Linked DNA regions of Homo sapiens: regions 1 and 2 are each linked to region 3. The links are contacts of gene promoters, found by promoter capture Hi-C in blood cells and fetal thymus (Javierre and others, 2016). All regions are on one chromosome and are shown on one strand. Each heading gives the region's core, a stretch centred on a gene start or on the middle of the fragment in contact. The rest is flanking DNA. Distances are from core to core; before and after follow the strand shown. Region 1 has its middle 4.7 kb from the start of IQGAP1. Region 2 overlaps CRTC3-AS1 (CRTC3 antisense RNA 1). Region 3 holds the start of CRTC3 (CREB regulated transcription coactivator 3).

Region 1 (3,345 bases), core at 490-2,989, 150 kb after region 3:
TGCAGTGAGCCAAGATCATGCCTCTGCACTCTAGCCTAGGCAATAGAGCGAGACTCCATCTCAAAAAAATAAATAAATAAAAATAAAAAATAATAATAAAGAATAAATTGTGCCTATTATATTGTCTATATTAGATTTCCTATTACATTTTCTTTTTTTTTTTCTTTTGAGATGGAGTTTCACTCTTGTCACCCAGGCTGGAGTGCAATGGTGCAATCTCAGCTCACTGCAACCTCCGCCTCCCGGGTTCAAGGGATTCTTCTGCCTCAGCCTCCCAAGTGGCTGGAATTACAGGCACCCGCCACCACACCTGGCTAATTTTATATATATATATATTTTTTTATTAGAGATGGGGTTTCACTATATTGGCCAGGCTGGTCTCAAACTCCTGACCTTGTGATCCACTGGCCTCGGCCTCCCAAAGTGCTAAGATTACAGGCATGAGCCACCGCACCTGGCCTAGATTTTCTTTTTAGTTCATTCAATCGTATAAAACTTTTTCAAAACTTTTTTTTTTTTTTGAGACGGAGTCTCACTCTGTCGCACAGGCTGGAGTGTAATGGCACAATCTTGGCTCATTGCAACCTCTGCCTCCTGGGCTCAAGCGATTCTCCTGCCTCAGCCTCCTGAGTAGCTGGGATTACAGGCACGCACCACCGCGCCCAGCTAATTTTTGTATTTTTAGTAGAGACGGGATTTCACCATGTTGCCCAGGCTGGTCTTGAACTCCTGACCTCAGGTGATCCACCCACCTCTGCCTCCCAAACTGCTTGGATTACAGGCGTGAACCACTGTGCCCGGCCTAGATTTTCTTTTTAATTCATTCAATTGTTTAAAACTTTTTCAAAACTTAGTAATTCCTATAAATAAACATACAAGCATAACAAAGCTAACATTCTCTTAGATGGCCTGATTCCATGTGTAAACTTAGTAAGCTTTCAACTCAAAAACCTAAGTCTAAAACTAACTCAATTACACATTTAAAATGATTTACAAAAAAGCTGTCATTCAAGTCGGCCAAATTTTCTTAAACATTGCGAATACATAAAATGTGAAATATTTCTTCTTCTTCTTCTTTTTTTTTTTTTTTTTTTGAGACAGAGTTTCACTCTGTCACCCAGGCTGGAGTGCAGTGGCGTGATTTCGGCTCACTGCAACCTCAGCCTCCCAAGTTCAAGTGATTATCCTGCCTCAGCCTCCTGAGTAGCTGGGCTTACAGGCGCACACGACCACACCCGGCTAATTTTTGTATTTTTACTGGAGGTGAGGTTTTGCCATGTTGGCCAGGCTGGTCTCGAACTCTTGACCTCAAGTGATCTGCCCACCTTGGCCTCCCAATGTGCTGGGGTTATAGGCATGAGCCACCATGCCCAGCCGAAATATTTCTTCTTAACTCCAACATATTAATCCAATTGTTCATTCCATAAAGGCTTTCTTTACTTAATTACAAAGTTTGTCTGAGGTGAAAGCCACAGAGATGTTAAGTTACCAACTGCACTGGTACCTTACTATACTAAGTGTTGCACATTTATTTTCTCAGCTGATCCTTGTAATAATCCCATTATGTCCATTTTACACTTGGGAAAATGGAGAACTGGGTTACTTACCTGAAGCCACACAGCAAGAGGCAGAGCTGGAACTCAAACCCAGGCCTGTCTAATGACAAAGCCCAATTCCTAGTCAATAAACTCAAGATTCAGAGAAATAGACATTAAGATAATAACATGCTGGCCAGGCACAACGGCTCACACCTATACCCCCCAGCACTTTGGGAAGCAGAGGAGAGAGGATTGCTTGAGGCCAGGAGTTCAAGACCAGCCTGGGCAAAATGAAAAACCCCGTCTCTACAGAAAATACAAAAAATTAGCCCAGCGTGGTGGCATGCTACCCAAAAGGCTGAGGTGGGAGGATCGCTTGAGCCTGGGAGTTGAGGCTGCAGTGAGCTGTGATCCCGCCACTGTGCTCCTGCCCAGGTAGACAGAGTGAGACCCATCACCAAAAAAAAAAAAAATAGAAAAGATAACATGCCACATATCACTTCTTGCCTATCATATGTAGCAACATTTTGGTTTGTCTTTTTAATTGATATTATTGGCAAGGGGGTGAAAAAGCAACCACTCTTATGCAATGTTAGTAGGCAATAAATTAATATAGTCTTTCTAAAGACCAGCTTATCATTATGCATCTATTCTTCAACCAAAAAACTTCACTTCTTGGAATGTATCATAAGGATATCGTGCTTTTATTAAATGTGCAAAAGTTATCCATGAAGATGCTCCTTGGAAATTACTCAAATGTCCATCAGTAGGTGTTTAAATCAGTGATGGCAGCTATACACAATAGAATGCCATATAGCCATGAACAGTGATGATCTGTGGTCTGGTCAGGCTTGACTGGCTACAGGAAACAGACATGCACAGTTTTACTTCTAGAGGAAAAAAGGCTGGAAGGGAGGCCTTTCTTATACAGACCTATATGGACTGGAACTGCACCAAAAACAAAACTACACTAAACAAAAAAAAACAGGACTAATGAAAGCTTGAAGTCATGGTTTCATTCTCTGGGCATCTCTGCTTTTCCACAGGCTGGCTCTACTCTCCACTCTTTGCTAACCAGCTTACTCCATTTAATTTTTTCTGTTCCCTCACAACTCTTGTTTCTGCTTGCCTTGCCATGGCTTTGACTGAAGGTCATGGTATCCTTACATCATCAGCTCCATTGAGGATCATCTCAATTGCCTAACTCCATAACCCATAGAGTGGCATATGATTGACCCAGCTCAGCTTTCCACCCTGTGGGTAAATCTCTGACCACCCACAGGCAGGCTGCCCTTAGATTGGATGCTGATCCTTTACTTCAATCAACTATGATCAGGAGATACAGATAATTAAGCATAGAGAACTATGAGCTGGGCATAATTTCCTTCAGTGGGAGGCTGGGCAGGCAAAAAATGTACAGGCTGGCAGTACAATATTTTAATATTGTGGTTAAGTTAATATATCAAATTATGACTAATAAATATGATACCATTTTGTTTTAAATGTAGCTAGATAGATAGATACATTGATGGATATGTGCATATGAATAGATAAAGCCTTGAAGTATATACACCAATATATTAACAGTGGCTTCTCCAGGCAGTGCTATTACACTGGATTTGTGTGGGGTTTGCTTGCTTGCTTGTCTGTATTTAAAATGAGCTGCTGGAAATACTATTTTGTCAGCAAATATAAATATGAATAAAATTAGTAAATATGAAATGAATAAACGGCAAAATAATGAGGTAAATGGTCATTTTGGGAGTCAAAATTGGTTAATGACCACAAAGAATTTACAAGCCAGGAG
Region 2 (3,636 bases), core at 927-3,426, 140 kb before region 3:
AGGAGCACCTCTTTTTGTGGGGTTTCCTTAACATAGAAGCGTTTTATTTTCTTTTTCCCCTTTAAGAAAAATTTAATTTTTTGTTTTGTTTTGTTTTGTTTTGTTTTGAGATGGAGTTTCGCTCTTGTTGCTCAGGCTGGAGTGCAATGGTGCGATCTCAGTTCACTTCAACCATCCGCCTCCTGGGTTTAAGTGATTCTCCTGCCTCAGCCACCCAAGTAGCTGGGATTGCAGGCACACACTGCCATGCTTGGCTAATTTCTGTATTTTTAGTAGAGACGGGGTTTCACTATGTTGGTCAGGTAGGTCTCAAACTCCTGAACTCAGGTGATCCATCCACCTCGGCCTTCCAAAGTGCTGGGATTAAAGGTGTGAGCCACTGCTCTTGGTCCTTGATTTTTTTTTTTTTTTTTTTTTTTTAAGACAAGGTCTTCCCTGTTGCCCAGGCTGGAGTGTGAGTGGTGTGATCATAGCCCACTGTAGCCTTGACCTTCTGGACTCAAGCCTCCCGAGTAGCTGGGACTACAGTGTGTGCCACCATGCCTGGCTAATTTTTTAATGAAATGGGGGTCTCACTTTGTTGCCCAGGCTGATCTTCAACTCCTGGGCTCAAGCGACCCACCCCCTTCAGCCTCCCAAAGTGCTAGGATTACAGGCATGAGTCACTGCACCCAGCTAAAATTTTTTTTTAAGACTTAATTTTTTTTAGACCAGGTTTATGTTCACAGCAAAAAGGAAGGTACAGAGAGTTCCGGTGTACTCCCTGCCAGCCTCCCCGATGATTAACATCCCCTCAGAGCAGTCCATTTTTTACAATCCATGAACCTACACATCATCATTGCCCAGAGTCCACAGCGTACATTAGGGTTCACTCTGCTGTTGAACATGCTGTGGGTTTGGACAAATGTACAATGACATGCATCCATACAGAGTATGGATGTATCATACAGAGTAGTTTCACTGCCCTAAATAGAAGCCTTTTTTTTGAGGTGTGTCCCCAGGTTTTGCCCTTTAGCTGAGAACTCTCACACTCACTGCCACTCCCAAGAGTGGACTGTGTCCCCATTCCAACCCCACGTGCTCACACAACCACAGGGCAGAGGGGGCAGCTGCCCCGTGGGGAAGTGCCCCAGAGACTGAGCCCATTGCTCAGTCTGCCCTGGGGATCTGGATGGGGACATCCAGAGACAGGGTCAGTTAGTGTAATCACCAAACTTGTTTGGATCATGGAAAGACCCACGTGTTTCAGCAGAGGTGAGGGAGCAGCTCTGCACAGCGGGGAGAGGGGAAAAGTAGGTGAGCTGGGGAAACAGGGAGAAGAGATTTCTGTCCTGAGGCAGGGACAGTTGGAGACAGAGTCAAACAGGATTCAAGTGATGGCAAGATGGAAAGACAGAAACAGGGACACAGTCGAAAAAAGATGCCACCGAGCAACAGAGGCGCAGACAGAAAGGAAGGCAAGCTGGGCCTGCTTTGGCTCCCCCTGGACATCCCTGCCCCCAGGCCTGGCTGCTCCTCAGCGCAGATTCCCAGGAGCTGCCTGGCCACCCTCAGATAAACCCCCCTAAAACCACGTGTTTCTTCTCCTTCCTCGTCTCCTTTTTTTTTTTCTAGACAGGGTCTCACTCTGTTGCCCAGTCTGGAGTGCAGTGGCACCATCTCGGCTCACTGCAACCTCCGCCTCCCAGGTTCAAGCAATTCTTCTGCCTCAGGTGCCACCATGCCCGGCAAATTTTTTTGTGTTTTTAGTTAAGACGGGGTTTCACCATGTTGGCCGGGCTGGTCTTGAACTCCTGACCTTAAGTGATTCGTCTACCTCAGCCTCCGAAAGTGCTGGGATAACAGGCATGAGCCATAGTGCCCAGACCCCCTTTTCTTCTTCACCTGGTGGAAGGGGCTCTTCTTTGCATCCACGAAATGCCAGGTGAGTCAGTCAGCAAACTGCTTGGGAATGATGGGAGCTAGGGCTGCTGTTTTGGGTCTGTTTTGCTCACTTATTTTTATCATTTTGAGGGGTTTCGGGGGTGAGGAGTAAGTGCTCCGCCCCCCACGCCCCACAAGGGATGGGAATTAGGCATGTCAGTCAGTATAACACAATTTTCTAAGTATGTCTCTTTGTTCAGACACCAGTATTTTTTTTTATTTTTTTTTATTTTTCTATCTCCAGTTATTAAGTCACTGCTGCTGTAGGAGTGCCACTTAAGTGCCTGGGTTTTTATTTTTGTCCCCAAGGTACAAAAAGTACTACCAGCCGCGCACAGTGGCTCACGCCTGTAATCTCATCACTTTGGGAGGCCAAGGCGGGAGGATCGCTTGAGCTCAGGAGCTCAAGACCAGCCTGAGCAACGTAGTGAGACCCCATCTTTACAAAAAGTTTAAAAATTAGCCGGGCGTGGTGGCGTGCGCCCGTAGTCCCACCTACTCGGAAGGATGGCTTCAGCCCGGAAGTTCGAGGCTGTGGTGAGCCGAGATCGCTCCACTGCACTCCAGCCTGGGCGACAAAGCGAGACCCTGTCTCAGAATAAGAATAAAAATAAAAGTACTGCCTACTTTCTGAACGCGCTCAGGCGGTGCCGCCTCAGGCGCTGTGGTGGGGCCGCGCACAGGCTGCCTGGGTGATCTCAGGAGGGCGAAGCCCCACGACGCAGGTTTGGGGCGGTCCTGTCCAACCCCCTGCGCATCCCGGGTGTCCAGAAACGCAGGCTGAACGCTGGAGCCCGGGGCGTCCTCGGTGCCGGAAGCGGCCGTGCGGCCGGAGCTCCGGGGAGGGACAGCCGGGCAGAGGAGCCGGGCTTTGGGGTCTCAGCCGTTTGCAGGGGTCCCCGGGCCCCCGTCCTTCCACGCGGAGGGCGTGAAGCGGCGGGGACGCGGCTGGGGAGCCCCCCCCGCGGCGGTGAGGACGCGGCGCCGCTCCCTTCCGGTGCTGCTCACCTGGAAGCCGGAGGCCGCTGGGGGTTTGGGGCGGCTGCACGCTCCGGGGTGGGGGGATGCGGGAGCCCGGTCAGGCCCAGCCGCCTTTCCCGGTGGTGAGGAGCGCTGTGCCGGGCTCCGGGGGTCTTACGCTTTCAGCTGCCGGGCCTGCCCCCGGCCACAACAAGGCCCTGACCCAGCTCTGTCGGGGGACGCTACCCGGCCCTGTCCCACTCCGGCCCAACGCTGTGATCCTAGGGTTCTCAGGCAACGGCCAGGCCGAGGGGCCTGCCATGTCCAGCTCGGGGCTGGGCTGTCACCGCCAAGTTAGATCCGGGCCAGCGCTGTGCTCGCGTTGCTTCACTCATTTGCTCACCCATGCATTGACTGACCGACTCCCCCACCAGGACCTAAGGGTCCGCTGCACCGGGCCAGGGGGCCCATCACCGTCAGCGGATTGATGAATTGCGCTCCCTTTTCAGGGCTCCGTTAGTTTTTGTTTTGTTTTATTTTTAAGACAATCTTGCTCTGTGGCCCAGGCTGGAGTGCAGTGGCGTGATCTTGGTTCGCTGAAGCCTCGACCTCCCAGGCTCAAGCGATCTCCCCGCCTAGGCCTCCAGGGTAGCTGGGACCACAGGCACGTGCCACCACACCTGGCTATTTTTCTGTTTGTTTTGTTTTGTATTGTTTTGTTTTGTTTTGTAGAGACAGGGTTTTGCCATGTTG
Region 3 (3,371 bases), core at 531-3,030:
CAACGTGCTCTGAGCTTATCGAGTTCATCTCTGAATCTAACCAAGGTCACAGATGTAAATGCCAGTGGATGCCAGGCAGGTAAAAAATGAGTGAAGCTGATAGGGTATAAGAAAACATTTTCTTGAAATCTTCAGCTTCTTTCTCTCTATATATATATTTTTTCTCAATGTGAACAGAAATGTAAGTACAGGAAATATTTCACTTTTTCCTTAACTTCACTGAAAGAAAACACCATCATGAGTATAAATGGCAACTGTCACCTAATCTCCCCTTGGGGGACTGTGACAGAGAGTGGACGGTGGCAAACTAGAGTTCTTACTCCATTTGAAAGGGAGCTCAGCTCAGCTCCCTTTCATCATCACCCAGCTCCAGCAGGTCGGTAGCTGTCATGTAGGAATTCAGAATTAGTGTTACCAGGTCTCCCAATTTTTAACATATATAAATAATAATAAATAAATAATACGGAAATTTGGATTTTGTGTGGAAGTCTTCCAATTTAAAAATTCTGGCAACAGATTCAATAATTTTTCCCAAACACTGCGCTGGCCAAAAAATAATGTGTCTGCAACTCAGCTGGTTTGCAACTCTGCTCTCAGCTCTCCTTCAAACTGTCTCCCCCGCCTCAGTCCCCCAGAATCTGCAGATCCTCCCCCATCCTCCCGATGGTCCTCCAAGGTCAGCATTCAGGATCCTCAAGGCCAGCCCCACTCCTGCTGACCCCCCTTCTCTGCAACCCTGCGCGGACACTCCGGTTGGCTCTCCATCCTCCACTGCCTCACTCAGCGGTTACCTAACCTCTCCAGGTGTTTGTCCCGGCTCGCGCCTTACTCATTCCTCCAGGTCCCTCTCCAGTCACCAGCGACGCTTGTCAGTTCTCACTAAATATCCCGGGCCGAACAAAGTAAACTGGACCCGATAAAGCACCTCCAAGGAGTAAAAGGAGCAGAGCCTCACACTCGACACGGAATCCCGTCGTGGTTCCAACAACCCGAGCCACCCCAGGGCCGGGCCCTGGATGGACTTGTGCACAGAGCTCCCCCCACGAGCGCGTGGGACCCTGGGGTGCCCGCGGCCTTCCACGCCGGCAGAACAGCAGGGCTCGATGGTGGGGGATGTTCGGAGCGACCAGAAGCCGCGCCGCGCCACCCGGCCGGCCTCCGAGCTGTTTGCGATTTCCTCTCGGGGCTCCTCGTCCTCCTCCCCCTCAGGCCGCCCTCGCACGGCCGCCCGCCTCCACGGGCTTCACCCCTGCCCATCTTCCCGCACACGGGGCCGGGCGACCCTCCCACCTCAGCCCGGGATCGCGAACGGCTAGCGGGTGTCGCCAGGCGGGGAAACGCCGAGGCCGCGGCCGCTCCGGTCCCCCTCCCAGCCGCCGGTTCCCGGGCGCGGCCCCCGCCCGGCCCCGCCATCGCCTTGGCCCCGCAACCTCTCACCCGCCGCGCGGGTCCCGCCCGCGGCCGTGGCCGCCCCCGCCCGCGCCGGCCCGGGCCCTCACCCGCGACAGGGTGAGGTCGGTCATGAGCTGCTCGAAGGCCCGCGTCTCCTCGGCCTGTCTCTGCGTGTGCAGCGCGATCTTCTCACTGAACTTCCGCGGGTTGGCGCTGCCCGAGCCCGGCGAGGCGGCCATGGCGCGGACTCTGCGCGGGCAGAAGCGGGAGACGGCGGCCGTGGGGCCTGTACCTCGGCCCACCCGTCCGTCCACAGGCCGCCGGGGCCGCCGCCCGAAGCCAGTCGTCCGGCGCGACCCGGCAGAGGAGCCGCCGCGGCCCCGGAGCCAGCGAGCGGCCGGGAGCGCGCCGAGGTCCGCCCCCGTGCGCCCGGCCCCGCCCCACCCTCGGCGGGGCCCGCCCGGCCTCCAGTCTGCCCCGGCCCCACGCTCGCGGGCTGAGGGCTGCTCCCCGCTTCCCGGTCTGGCTCGGGACCCGCCGCCGGCGGCCACCTGGAGGGACCCCCGTCAGCCCGACAAAGTGGCCCCGGCGTACGGGGAACGCTGGGGTGCCACTCCACGGAGACTCTCCGACCCAGGGATGGCCTCTGCGTCTACGCGACGTGGAGAACACAGCCTGTGCCCGCATCCCCCCTCCCCCAGCCAAATTACGAAGATTTTCTTCTCCAGGTGGAACCTGGGCGACCGGACCTCGAGCAGGTCACCTCGGGCCCCCGCAGGGGGTGCGCCCATTTTGCCTGGGGCCTAACGTCTGCCCGCCAGCCCTGCCGCTCCAGGCCCCCGGCCTCCAGCCGCTGGTTTCCTGACCTCTCACACCCACCCCTCCCCGCTCCAGTCAACCAGAGCTGTATCTCGGCTTTAAAAACTGCCTCCTATTCTGCACAAACTACAAACACCATCCAGCCCTGCTGCAGCCTTGGCTCCATAGCCCCGGCCCCCTTTCCAGGTTCTTTCCAAGTCTCCCTACGGCCTCTCCACTCCTGTGGCAGCTTCAGCAGGTGCCAGCCCCACCTTGGGAAACCAGCGCTCAGCCTCAGCGAATTTCCCCTTCTTTTGGGGGAGTGAATGGATGTCTTTCTCTGTCGCCCGGTCTGGAGTGTAGTGGTGCGATCTCGACTCACCGCGGCCTTGACCTCCCGGGCTCAAAAGATCCTCCCACCTCAGCCTCCCGACCAGCTGGGACCACAGGCGGGGGTCACCACGCCCGGCTAGTTTGTAAATGTTTTTGTAGCAATGGGGGGCGGGGGTGGGTCTCGCTATTTTGCCCAGGCTGGTCTCGAACGCCTGGGCTCAAGCGATCTGCCCACCTCAGCCTCCCAAAGTGCTGGGATAACAGGCGTGGGCCACAGTGCCCGGGGAGTTTCCTCTTTGGAGTCCAGAAGCTACTCTCAGCATAAATGTTGATGTGCACAAAGATGTCCCGGGGAGCCCTGAGCGTGTGTCAGTGTTCTGTAAAGAGGGAAATATTAGAGGCCTACGGAAGAGTACGGAAAATAATATTAATACTACCCACGCCCCCCACTATCAAGATTAAACAGACATCAATACATTTTGCTGCATGTACTTGGGATTTATTAAAGACATACAAAATTAGTCATAACGACGGCCCCACTCTCATTTCTTCTTCCGCCCCACAGATAGTCACCGTGCTCAAGTTGGTACATATCATTCCAGTTTGTGTTTTTATACTTTTATTACATATGATGTAGAGATCCAGCAATGCTATATGGAATACCTAATTTTGTTTTTAAACTTTACAAAAATGACACCATACTGAATAATCATTTTGCATCTTTTTTCATTCTCCATTATGTTTTCGAGATATATTTGTGTCAATTCATTTATATGATAATATTCCATTATGTTTTTCACCTGTCTCTCAGACATAGCCTATAACTGGACTTTTTAGAAAATGTATTC

The links. The method cuts DNA at HindIII sites, captures the fragments that hold promoters and counts their contacts. A CHiCAGO score of 5 or more calls a contact.
Region 1: a fragment that was not itself captured here is called in contact with the fragment with the promoter of CRTC3 in region 3 in 3 of 17 cell types (total B cells, activated CD4 T cells and naive CD4 T cells); the score reaches 6.2 in total B cells.
Region 2: a contact is called between a fragment that was not itself captured here and the fragment with the promoter of CRTC3 in region 3, in 2 of 17 cell types (activated CD4 T cells and naive CD4 T cells). The highest score is 6.7, in activated CD4 T cells.

The regions. Positions count from the first base shown.
Region 1 is chr15:90,381,850-90,385,194 of GRCh38, reverse strand. No RefSeq gene overlaps it. Among named protein-coding and RNA genes, the nearest start is that of IQGAP1, 4.7 kb to the left of the region's middle. The HindIII fragment of the contact is 1,603 bases long and covers 938-2,540 here.
Region 2 is chr15:90,664,718-90,668,353 of GRCh38, reverse strand. All of the region lies in intron 2 of CRTC3-AS1 (CRTC3 antisense RNA 1), which reads left to right. LINC01585 (long intergenic non-protein coding RNA 1585) reads right to left here. Exons shown (of 3, transcript NR_120371.1): 3 at 3,400-3,636. Among named protein-coding and RNA genes, the nearest start is that of LINC01585, 6.3 kb to the right of the region's middle. RefSeq lists a silencer at 2,687-3,066 and enhancers at 3,247-3,506, 3,547-3,596. The HindIII fragment of the contact is 7,376 bases long and covers 1-3,636 here.
Region 3 is chr15:90,528,332-90,531,702 of GRCh38, reverse strand. CRTC3 (CREB regulated transcription coactivator 3) reads right to left here and starts at 1,780. Exons shown (of 15, transcript NM_022769.5): 1 at 1,500-1,780. The coding sequence starts at 1,631. RefSeq lists an enhancer at 677-836 and silencers at 1,227-1,406, 1,427-2,176, 2,277-2,326. The HindIII fragment of the contact is 15,096 bases long and covers 1-3,371 here.